Regions from separate parts of the Homo sapiens genome. Here region 2 is linked to region 1. Evidence: promoter capture Hi-C in human tissues and cell types (Jung and others, 2019). All regions are on one chromosome and are shown on one strand. Each heading gives the region's core, a stretch centred on a gene start or on the middle of the fragment in contact. The rest is flanking DNA. Distances are from core to core; before and after follow the strand shown.

What was found. Contacts are between HindIII fragments. The study calls those that stand out against the background at their distance.
Region 2: a contact is called between a fragment that was not itself captured here and the fragment with the promoter of OR8K3 in region 1, in 3 of the 25 tissues and cell types used here (neural progenitor cells, ovary and small bowel).

What each region holds. Positions count from the first base shown.
Region 1 is chr11:56,313,429-56,320,051 of GRCh38, forward strand. OR8K3 (olfactory receptor family 8 subfamily K member 3 (gene/pseudogene)) reads left to right here and starts at 1,716. Exons shown (of 3, transcript NM_001005202.2): 1 at 1,716-1,739; 2 at 2,572-2,629; 3 at 4,856-6,623. The coding sequence starts at 4,879. The coding sequence ends at 5,817. The HindIII fragment of the contact is 20,178 bases long and covers 1-6,623 here.
Region 2 is chr11:56,265,512-56,272,112 of GRCh38, forward strand. No RefSeq gene overlaps it. Among named protein-coding and RNA genes, the nearest start is that of OR5T1, 5.3 kb to the right of the region's middle. The HindIII fragment of the contact is 6,385 bases long and covers 1-6,308 here.

The DNA of each region.
Region 1 (6,623 bases), core at 466-2,965:
TGTGCAGGTTAGTTACATATGTATACATGTGCCATGTTGGTGTGTTGCACCCATTAACTCGTCATTTAACATTCAAGACACCACTCACTATTAACCCTAGTGACCCACTGTCAAAATTTCTGCTTCCTGCTCCATTGACTTTAAGCTTTACTGACCTACAGGTCTTAGTCACAGAGGAATGAATGCTTCCACCTAGAGAAATAGCAATAATTCTATTGAATTGGAAGTTAAGACTCTTACCCAGCCATTTTGAGCTCCTCATGCAACTGAATCAATAGACAAAACAGGAAGTTATCACACTTGATCCTGACTTTCCAGGGGAAATTGGGCTATTACTTCACAATACAAGGAAGAATAAGCCTGGAATATGGGACATTCCTTAGGACATCTTTTATTAATAAGAAAAACTGTAATAATAATATACGGAAAACTGTAATAGCCCAAACTAGCCAGAACTACTAATGGCCCACATTCTTCAGGAATAAAGGTTTGGGCCACTTCACAAGGAAAAAAGAACCATGGCCAACTAAGGTGCTTGCTAAAGACAAAAGGAATAGAGTATGGAAAGAAGAAGAAGACGGTTATAAATACCAGCTATAATCATGTGGCCAGTTCAGAAATGAGGACTGTAATTGTAATGAGAATTCCATCCTAATTTTATTATAAATATGTCTGTGTATTTATTAAGATGCTTTATTCCATTTTTTATTACCTTATTATATAAATATGATATATGGACTTTACATCAATATTTAAATATTGTTACTTTTACACTGTAGAATTTTACTCTGAGAAAATCAGGAGAAGAGTCAGTATCACTCAAAGAATATATGTCCTGATTGGAATAAAGGATTAGTGAGTTTTTATTTATATGCCGGATAGTTGTGTCATGTAAAGCAAAACTATGACCTTGTTATTGTCTATGTTTAGAGAGACTAAGTATGGTTTAAGTACATGCTTATGTTTGCCAAGCTGACAAGGGGTGGAGTAATGACGATTAAAGTGTTGACTTAACTAGGCTATATGATGCCCAGATAGCTGGCAAACATTATTTCTGGGTGTGCCTGTGAGGATACTCCTGGAAGAGACTACGATTGTTAGACAGAGTAACTATCATCCTCACCAATATAGGTGGGTATCAGTGCAATCAATTGAGGCCTTGAATAAAACAAAAAGACAGAGGAAGGGTGAGTTCACTCCCTGCTTAAGCTAGGACATCCTTCGCTTCCTGCCATCAGACATTGACATCCCAGATTCCAGAGCCTTCGAATTCAGACTATGATGTACACCCTTGGCTCCCCTGGCTCCCAATATTTCAAGTTTGAACTGAATCTATACCACCAGCTTTCTTGAAGTTTGCAGACAGCAAATCACAGGAATCCTCAGCCTACATAATTGCATAAAACAATTCATAATAAATCTCTATTATCTATCTATCTATCTATCTATCTATCTATCTATCTATCATCTATCTATCTATCTATCATCTCTCATCTAACTATCTCTTCTTAGTACTGTTTTTCTGGAGAACTCTGATACACTAGTGAATACAAACTGTCTTCTACAACTAATGGACAGCCTCAAACATTTTGTTATGCTCTCAAATGCTTTAGGAATTATCAATAAATTGCCTGCCATCTCCTCAGGGAGAGTCTCAAAAGATTAAAAAATGCATAAATTGTTCTCACTGTGCCATGTGAGAGACACATGGAGGAGTCAAGACAGAGGCTTCCTTACAGGTAAAAAAAAAAAAAGTAAGAATGTTTCTTGTGGTGTCATATGTTACAGATATCTATAATGCTTCAGTGACATTGGAAAACTGCCACTTTAATTTGATGACATAACCATAGTAAAGTGTGACAATTTCTGATTCATTTCTCCGGGATTTCTGTTACTCAATAATGCCTAAGCAGAAATAACGGTGCTCCATTTTTCATATGCTTTTTAAGTATTTTACATGGTTTCACAGGCTGAATGCTATAAGCATCTTTGAAACATTATCATGATATTGTTTCTAAAGTATTCATTTTACATATTTTTCTCTAATTGAGGCCAAAACTTGGAGAAAATAAAGCACAATGACAAGGAGATAAATATATTTTTAATGAAAGAATGGAGAAACTGCAACTATTTGGTCAGTCATGTTCATGTCCTTCCAAATACTTGTTATTTAGATGCTCTAGGCTCTCAGACCCCTTAACAATAATTTAACACTGAATGATTATTCAAATAAATGTGTAGATATGATTGTTTTCTCACTGCTTGGTGAGTCAAAAAGGGGGTTGCTACCTTACATTCGAATGTGAAAAGCATTATTAAAAATTATGAGGCTTTTTGGGTAATCATAGGCACAGAAAAAAAAAACATTTTAAAATAGAAGAAAATAAAATTAGGAGACTGTTAAGTACCCAGTTTTAGGGAACAATACAATTTTCAGAAAGTACTTCAATTTCCACTAAGAGTTGACAAAAGCAGATATTATTTTCTCAAAGATTGTAGCTTTAAAAAATGCAATTGATATTCAACAAAGACAGCAAAATATGAAAAAAAGCAATCTGGTTCTTTCCACAGAACTCCAAAGATGGTGAAAGGAACCTCATTTATATTTCCTTACCTAACAAGAAAACAGGTACTTATCCATGATATTATTTGCCTTTCTAAATTGCCAAACTGTACAAAACAAGCAAACAAAATACAGGATTTATGCTGCTCATCATCTTATTTACTAAAGATATTTATCTAACTTTTCCATCTACTGCCACACATTACCATATATCTAATATGAGAAAGGTGTGTTCATTGAGTCAGGGTAGGATAGGAGTAGGTCATAATTTTATTTAAAAAATTAAGTTCAAATAATATGTAATCATCTTTATATTTAATGTAACACAATTGCTTGTCTTTATTTTTTCATAGCTCACTCTGAGATTGCTGTCACTATAATTTTCATTGTAAAAACTATTTTCTTTCTTTTCTTTTTTCAAAAAACATTGGGGCTTACGATTTTTTTTAACTAATAATGATTATCTTAGGTTATCATGCCCTCCATCTCCTGCTCTACTATATTTTAAATCTGTGGGTTATTGGGGGATATTTAGATATATATTTATTCGATTATACATATGTTAATTTGTATTATGTGCTATACCATATTTCCTAGTTTCTGTGGCTTGCATGTTCAGAAAAGTTTTAAATCACAGCCAGAAATCCACGTATATCTCATGTTTAGTGTATTCATTTTGTCTCTATGTTATTGTGTAACAAGGTGACTTTTAATCATTTCTTTAATCTACAGTATCCTTTTACCCAAAAAGTAGCTTTTACTAATTTTCATTATACAAAACCAATATGAAGGACCACATTTTCTCCCAATTTGTTCAGATTTCCTCAAACTCCCCTAAGATTTTGTATGATAAAACAAACTTAACGTTCACATTCAAGTTAGCATTTCTCAATTATATTGAGAATAAAACTATGGGAAGATTAATGTTTTAATAAAGTTTATATAAAAATAATTTATTTAAAATGTTATTAAATTCGTTGTGAAAAATAGATAAGTAATCCAAAACAATAGCATACCAATTACCCAAGTTTAGTCATGAATTGGGGGAGGGGAGAAGAACTGCCCTAAGTTGCAAGTATTACATCCTACTTGACCTGTGACTCCCCTAGGCATCATTATGGTCCTAACAAAGAAGTTAATTCATAGTCAGAATAATGTATGTGTACACATGTAAAAAAAACCTCTTTCAAGTAAGGCATTGTCACAATTAAAACAAATAACAAGAAGAAGAAAACTCACAATGTACTTGATGTTTTAGAACTACTTCTAGGCAGCAAAGACACATTGAATCACTTAATCTTCAGTCATCCTTCCCAACAATTCTGCAATGACATGTTGGTTCTGGATATTAGAACAAACAGTTTTAGATAACTTACACTATTTGCCTAAAATAACCTTTCAAATATGACATAAATTAAGATATAGTGTAGAATATATCTATATCCATATATTTCCTGATATTTTTTGCTTTGTAAATATAAATAATTGCCACTGTCATCTGTTATGCTGCTCTTACTCATATGCCTAATATCTGTCAACTCTATTAAAGTCTCAGCTGTACCACCCGAAGAGATAAGGGTATTCACAGGATGATGTTTTGAAGCAGGTGGTTTTATGCATTTTTGGAATCTGTGACAGAAATTTTTTATATAACTAAAATTGTATTATGTCACAATTTTAATCTATAAATATGACCAAGCTCTAAAAACATAGTACAATAATTGTTCATATATCAGATATCCACGGTATTAACAATGTTTTTAACTTTAAAATTTTTCTTTATATATCTATACAGACATGAATATCTGTATCTCTTTCTCTCTCTCTCATATGATTCTATCTGTTCATCCATAATCTATCTATCTACCCATTAACTATCTATCTATCATCTGTCTATTCATGTATCTCATCAGAGTTTCTCAACCTTAGCACTATTGATATTTGGGGTTGGGTATTGCGATGGGCTGAGTATTGATTATAGTGGAATGTTTAGCAGCTTACTGGCTTCTAACCTTTAGATGCAACAGTGGCCCACCTCCAAATTGTGATAAATAAAATGTCTCTAGACATTAGAAAATGTTTTTGGGTGAGTAAAATCAAAAGCAACTGAAAACTGCTGATCTGCCTTATCTCTTTCTTAAATTATTTAAACATGTTTTTATTTGTGAGAGGTATGTTTTCAAATGTCGCAAATTGTGAAATTTAGGTATATCTTCTGTTAGCTTTGCATACTAAAAAATTTCTCAGGTGATGATAGAGGAAAGCTATTGACAATGCCGATGTCTCTATCAGAATAGGTTTTCTGATGAACCTGGATGGAACAACACAATCTAACAACGGTGAATGAATTCATTCTTACGGGAATCACAGATATCGCTGAGCTGCAGGCACCATTATTTGCATTGTTCCTCATGATCTATGTGATCTCAGTGATGGGCAATTTGGGCATGATTGTCCTCACCAAGTTGGACTCCAGGTTGCAAACCCCTATGTACTTTTTTCTCAGACATCTGGCTTTCATGGATCTTGGTTATTCAACAACTGTGGGACCCAAAATGTTAGTAAATTTTGTTGTGGATAAGAATATAATTTCTTATTATTTTTGTGCAACACAGCTAGCTTTCTTTCTTGTGTTCATTGGTAGTGAACTTTTTATTCTCTCAGCCATGTCCTACGACCTCTATGTGGCCATCTGTAACCCTCTGCTATACACAGTAATCATGTCACGAAGGGTATGTCAGGTGCTGGTAGCAATCCCTTACCTCTATTGCACATTCATTTCTCTTCTAGTCACCATAAAGATTTTTACTTTATCCTTCTGTGGCTACAACGTCATTAGTCATTTCTACTGTGACAGTCTCCCTTTGTTACCTTTGCTTTGTTCAAATACACATGAAATTGAATTGATAATTCTGATCTTTGCAGCTATTGATTTGATTTCATCTCTTCTGATAGTTCTTTTATCTTACCTGCTCATCCTTGTAGCCATTCTCAGGATGAATTCTGCTGGCAGACAAAAGGCTTTTTCTACCTGTGGAGCCCACCTGACAGTGGTCATAGTGTTCTATGGGACTTTGCTTTTCATGTACGTGCAGCCCAAGTCCAGTCATTCCTTTGACACTGATAAAGTGGCTTCCATATTTTACACCCTGGTTATCCCCATGTTGAATCCCTTGATCTATAGTTTACGAAACAAAGATGTAAAATATGCCCTACGAAGGACATGGAATAACTTATGTAATATTTTTGTTTAAATTTTGTACAATATGATTCCTATAAATTAGGTTATGGGCATGAATTTTTGCTCTGCATACTTCCAGAAGACATAACAAGCATAACTGATTCAACATATATTTACATATGTCTCATACATGATAGGCTCTTCTAATTGCTATACATAGATTAATAAACAAAATAGTAGAAATCTTTGCCTTCCTTGATGGATAGATGAATTGTATTCACAATAAGTCCATTTTATATAACAGTAGAATGTGCACGATGGATATAGACAAAGAAAAAAGGGAGACAAGGAAAGCTAGTATGCTGGGTGGCAGTAGGAAACAGTGGTCATTACAGAAGGGAGTTACGAGGATTCCAGTGTTTTTTATCTGCTACTGGAATAAAATTTACAGTGTGTGTGCTTCTGTATGTTTCTGTTTGTGTGTTTTTGTGTATATAAGCATTTTCCTTCTGTTTTAGCCTTCATACTTTTTGCTTGTATATTCTGACATTGCATTTAATACTGGTTGTTTAGATGATATGTGATGATTTTAAGTCTTACAGATGTGCTCGAATAATTACTATTCCGAATATTAGGATCCTACTATTTCCTTATCAATGTTTTTATTTCCACATAGAAGTCTGTTAACCGAACATACTTTGTAGCTCAATAATCGGTAAATTCTGATTAGCACCTGATTTTGTTTCAGTTAGCCCATTCTGTTTACATGAGTAGATATATCAATTATGCTTAAGTTTAGAAGACATCCATAGAAATTCTCAGGTTTATTCTTTCTCTCTAGTTGTTCTTGCTTAATAACTGCCTTTTTCACAGATTTTC
Region 2 (6,601 bases), core at 1,866-4,365, 47 kb before region 1:
GCTTAAAACTTAACTTCTCTGAGGCCTAGTGTCCTCATGCTGGCAATATAAGCCATTTTATATTGCAATGAGTCAGTAAATATAGTGAACTATAATAACATTGAATCACCATATGTCTTCCACACAATCTAGCAGATAGATTTACAGTCATTCAAATGCATTACACTTTCATTCTGTTAAAATTATAAACTGCTATGTTTGCAGTGAATAAAGTATAATACTTGAAATCATTGGAGTATTAATAGCAAATTAATAAGAAAGCTACAAAAATGCCATAGACTTAAAGAAGGCAAAAAATTTACATCTCTGTAAAACATCATAAGTCATCTCATGTTCCAATATTGGGTGCACAGATATTTAGAATTGATATATACTCTTGTTGAATTGATCCTTTTATTTTTATATTATGACTCTTTTTGTCTGTCTTTTTACTCTTTTTTTATTATTTATTTAAAGTCAGTTTTATCTGAGATACAGTGTAGTTTTTCTGCTCACTTTCGGTTTCTATTTGCATGGAATATCCTTTTCGACTACTCCTTTACTTTTAGTCTATATGTGTTTTTATCACCAAGGATACAGTTTGATCATTCTTTAAATTCATTCCACAAATGTATATCTTTTAACAGGAACATTAATCCATTTACAGTCAAGGTTAATACTGATATGTGAGGTTTTATTCCTGTCACATTGTACATTTTTAGCTAGTTGTTTTACACATTCTTATTTTTTTTCTTTTTTTTTTTGTAGTTTAGTGTAGTTCTGTTGTATTGCTATTTAATTCCAGTCTCTTCCTTCTTTGTGTAATTGTCTTATACAATGGCTGAATTTTATAATCCCATGTGATATTTTGGTAGTGAATATCAGCCTTTTGTTTTTATGTTTAGGACTTTTTCTAGTATTTCTTATGAGGCTGATCAAGTAGTGATGCATTCCATCACCGTTTGCTTGTCTGGAAAAGACTTTATTTATCCTTCATTTATAGAGCTTATTGTAGCTGGATATAAAATTCACAGCTCTTTTTTTTTTTTTCCTCTCCTTTAGCACTTTCAAAATAGCCTCTCATTCTCTTCTGGCTTGCAAGACTATTGCTGAAAAGTTTGTTTTTTGTCTGATGGGGCTTCCTTTTCAGCAGACTAGACACTTTTCTCTTGCTGACATTGGAATTTTTTGTTCACATTGAATTTAGACAGTCTGATGACTATACAGCATGGCAAAGTCCGATTTGCAATGTATTTTTCTAATGATGACTGAGACTCTTGTATCTGAATGTATAAATCCCTTGTTAGCATTCTTCTTATCAGCACATAGAGCAATGGAACAGAATAGAGAACCAAGAAATAAGACCACATACCTACTACCATCTGAACTTTGACAAACCTGACAAAAAAAAGCAATGGGGAAAGGATTCCATATTCAATACATGGTGCTGGGAGAACTGGCTAGCCATATGCAGAAGATTGAAACTGGACTTCTTCCTTACACCATATACAAAAATCAACTCAAGATGGATTAAAGACTTAGATGTAAAACACAGAAGAAAGCCTAGCAATACCATTTTGGACATAGGCATGGGCAAAGATTTCATGATGAAGATGCCAAAAGCAATTGCAACAAATGCAAAAATTGACAAATGGGATGTAATTAAACTAAAGAGCTTCTTCACAGCAAAAGAAACTATCAACAGAGTAAACAGCAACCTACAGAATGGGAGAAAAATTTTGCAATCTATTCTCTGACAATGGTCTAATATCCAGAATGTACAAATAACTTAAGCAATTTCACAAGAAAAAAACAAACAACTCCATTAAAAAGTGGGCAAAGGGGCTAGGTGCAGTGGCTCATGCCTGTAATCCCAACAGTTTGGGAGGCTGAGGTGGGTGGATTGCCTGAGCTCAGGAGTTTGAGACCAGCCTGGCCAATATGGTGAAACCCCGTCTCTACTAAAATACAAAAAACTAGCCGGCATGGCAGCGTGCACCTGTAATCCCAGCTACTTCAGAAGCTGAGACAGGAGAATAGCTGGAACCCAGGAAGTGGAGGTTGCAATGAGCTGAGATCCCACCACTGCACTCCAGCCTGGGTGACAGAGAGAGACTCTGAAAAAAGGAAAGAAAGAAAAAGTAAGAAAGAAAGAAAGAAAGAAAGAAAGAAAGAAAGAAAGAAAGAAAGAAAGAAAGAAAGAAAGAAAGAGAAGAAAGAAAGAAAGAAAGAAAGAGAGAGAGAGAGAGAGAAAGAAGAAAGAAAGAAAGAAAGAAAGAAAGAAAGAAAGAAAGAAAGAAAGAGAGAAAGAAAGAAAGAAAGGGAGAGAGAGAGAGAGAGAGGGAGAGAGGGAGGGAGGGAGGGAGGGAGGGAAGGAGGGGAAGGAAATATGGTACACAAACGTGACAGAGCAAGACTCTGAATAAAAAGAGAGAAAGAAGAACAAAAGAAAGAAAGAAAGAAAGAAAGAAAGAAAGAAAGAAAGAAAGAAAGAAAGAAAAAGAATGAAAGAAAGAAAGAAAGAAAGAAAGAGAAGAAAGAAAGAAAGAAAGAGAGAGAGAGAGAAAGAAGAAAGAAAGAAAGAAAGAAAGAAAGAGAGAAAGAAAGAAAGGGAGAGAGAGAGAGAGAGAGGGAGAGAGGGAGGGAGGGAGGGAGGGAGGGAAGGAGGGGAAGGAAATATGGTACACAAACGTGACAGAGCAAGACTCTGAATAAAAAGAGAGAAAGAAGAACAAAAGAAAGAAAGAAAGAAAGAAAGAGAGAAAGAAAGAAAGAAAGGGAGAGAGAGAGAGAGAGAGGGAGAGAGGGAGGGAGGGAGGGAGGGAGGGAAGGAGGGGAAGGAAATATGGTACACAAACGTGACAGAGCAAGACTCTGAATAAAAAGAGAGAAAGAAGAACAAAAGAAAGAAAGAAAGAAAGAAAGAAAGAAAGAAAGAAAGAAAGAAAGAAAGAAAAAGAAAGAAAGAAAGAAAGAAAGAAAGAAAGAAAGAAAGAAAGAAAGAAAGAAAGAAAATGTGGTACATATACGCAAGAAATGTGGAATACTATGCAACCATAAAAAAGAACAAGATCATGTTCTTTGCAGGGGCATGGCTGGAGCTGAAGGCCATTGTGCTTAGCAAACTAATGCAGGAACAAAAGTCCAAATACACATGTTCTCACTTAGAAGTGGGAGCTGAACAATGAGAACACATAGACACATGGTGGGGAGAGTAACACACACTGAGGCCTGTTGGAGCATGAGGGGCAGGGTGGAAGGAGAAAGAGGTTCAGGAAGAATACCTAGTGGATGCTGTGCTTAATACCTGGGTGATGGGATGATCCGTGCAGCAAACCACCATGACACAGGTTTACCTATGTAACAAACCTGCACATCCTGAACATGTACCCCTGAACTTAAAATTAAAGTTGACAATTTAAAAAAAAGAATTAATATCTTAAAATGAATATACCACCTAAAGCAATCTATAGATTTAATGCAATTTCTATCAAAAGACCAACGTGATTTTTCATAAAATTGGAACAAATAATCCTAATATGCATATGGAACAACAAAAAAAGAGTGAATAGCCAAATCAATCCCAAGTGAAAAATAAGGCTCAAGGCTTCACATTACCAGGCCTTAAGTTACACTATAAGGCTGTAATAATCAGAACAGTATGGTAGGATATAAGGCAGACACAGATCAATGGAAAAGAATAGACAACTCATAAATAAAGCCATATATATACATCCAACAGATTTTTAACAAATTTAACAAAAACACACACTGGACAAAGAATCCTATTTGCAATAAATGGTGTAGGAAAATTGGATTACCATTTACATATACAAAAATCAACCCGAGTTGGATGGAGGACTTAAATATATGACTTGAAAATAGAAAAATACAAGAAGAAAAACTAGGAAAAAATCTTCTGGACATTGGTCTATGCAATATTTCATGACTAATACCACCAAAACACAGTCAACGTAAACAAAAATAAACTCATGAGATGTAATTAAACTATAAAGCTCCCATACAGCAAAATAAATCATCAACAGGGCACAGAGAATCCACATAATGAGAGAAAATATTTGCAAATTATGCATCTGATGGGAGACTAATATCTACAATTTAGAAAGAATTCAAGCAATTCAACGAAGAAAAATAACCTTATTTAAAAGTGACCAAAAGATATCAATAAACATTTTACAAATGAAGACATGCAATGAACATGGCCAATAAGCATATGAAAAAATGCTCAACATCACTTATTAGAGAAATGAAAATTAAAACCTTAATTAGATATCGTCTCACACCAGTTAGAATGACCAATCTTAAAATGTCAAAAAAAAAAAAAAAACAGATGTTGGCAAAGAAAAGGGGATGCTTATGCACTGCTGTTGGGAATGTAAGCTAGTACTACCTATATGGAAGACAGTATGGAGATTTCTCAAATAACTGAAAATGGAACGACTATTTGATCTAGCAATCCCACTACTGGGTATCTGCCAAAAGATAAATCAGTATCTTACTTTGGGTAGATACCCAGTAGTTGAATTGCTGGATCAAATGGTGGTTCTATGATACTTGCACTTTTATGTTTATCACCACACTATTCACAGTAAGAAAAATACAGAATCACTCTAAGTGTTCAACCATGGATGACTAGATGCAGAAAATATGTTATATATAAGCAGTTGAATACTATTCACCAACAAAAGAATGAAAGCATGTCTTTTGCAGCAACATGGATGAAACTGGAGGCCATTATCTTAAATGAAACAATTTTAAAAAAGAAAGTCAAATATGATATGTTCTCACTTATAAGCAGGAGCTAAATAATGTATACATATGACATAGAGTGTGGAATGAATTACAGTGGAAAGTTGGAAGGGTGAGAGAGTCAGAGGTATGTGGAGTATAAGAAATTACTTAATGGGTACAATGCACATTATTCAGGAGATGGATACACTAAAAGTCAAGATATTCAATATATTCAATATATCCATACAACAAAATTGCACCTCTACTCAATGCATTCAGAAAGAAAGAAAGAAAGAGAGAGAGAAAGGGAAAAAAAGAGAAAGAGAGGAAAGAAGGAAGGAAGGAAGGAAGGAAGGAAAAGGTAGAAAGAGAAAAAAGGAAGGAGAGAAAGAAGCTGATGCAAGGCAGGCATAAACTTTCACTAATAAACTCAGAATCTCCATCAACATATTTAAAAAATCAATAAACAAGCAAACATGAAATGAGTGAAAGTGAAAAATACATAAATGGATAATTTTTATTTGTTTTTTCAAAATTATATCAAAGACTACCACCACAAAACCTGAAAATAAAAAGAATATTGAGTCAAAGCACCCTGTTGCAACAGAATCTTGTTAAATCAGCAACTTTTTTTTTTTTTTTTACCAGACACAGAATTAACTGGGAAAAGGAAGGATTAACAGTACCTATAACACATGGAATTCGTGAATTTTCAAACTCCACCAGTAAAAAGAAAAGACAATTTATTGAGTGAAAATTCCAGCAAAGTCAAGCTGGAAGAGTAGATAAGCTTTTATATGTTCCAAGTTTCAGGTGAATTACCACCCCAACCCCTGTGCAGTCTCAATACAGGTGTCGCCAAAGGATCGTGAATGATTGAAACTGTGCTCAAGGTAATTAAGGATGTCACAAATGTGCAGCATATACACCCTTTCAGTAGGACAAGTAAAGACTTGTCCTTGTTTCCCTAAGGAAAACAAAACGCTGAAAAAAAAAAAAGCTAACTGAGTCAAGTAGAATCATTGGGAAGAAAAGCTTCACTAAGAAAGGAGAATTCTGGGAGATGTAGTTCTCAGAACACTTAGGGCAACATAAAATGTCTAAGGTGTGGAGAACCACTTTGAAAGGCAAGAACTGACTGTCTATAGGACTCAAGGAAGAGCAGGGAGAATTTGCTCATAAATTAGGCTTAGGTCTGAGAGCTAAAGTAGCTTTACAGTAATATTTTAAGGCCACAATGAAAGCTAGAGAGTGATTCCTTCAGCATGAACCTGGAAAAGTTACTTTGATATATCACCAACTTCCTATGTACCTTCTTCTGAGAGTCAAGATGCCCAGCACATTTAAACATGGATGGAGCAAGAAGATGGCAATTGAACTCCATATGATGAGAGTTAAAGTATACAAGGATGAAAATAACAAAATAATGTTTTAGAAGGTTGCCAGCAGCCCGTTACCATTGTCAGCAGCCTCAGCTACCTTATTCTGTCCTCTAGTCATTATCTATTCTGAAGCAATGATAAATTTATGTAATAGCTAGTTTTCTAAAGTTTTAATATAAACAGAAAAATTTACCATTTATAAGTGTCAGTTATATGAATTTTGATAAACACAAGTAGGTAAGCAAATCAAGTTATAGTATATTTTCATTACCCTATAAAGTCCTCTCATCACTTTGTAGCCAATTACTTTCCTTTACTCCCAAGTTCTGGCAACCACAGATGTGCTTTCTGTTGTGATTTTGCCTGGTCCAGGATATTATATCAATGGAATCACAATGTATGTAACTTTTTGAGTTTGGCTTTTTCAACTTAGCAAGAAGTATTTGAGATTCATTCCTGTACTAGATAATTATATTTTATACCTACTT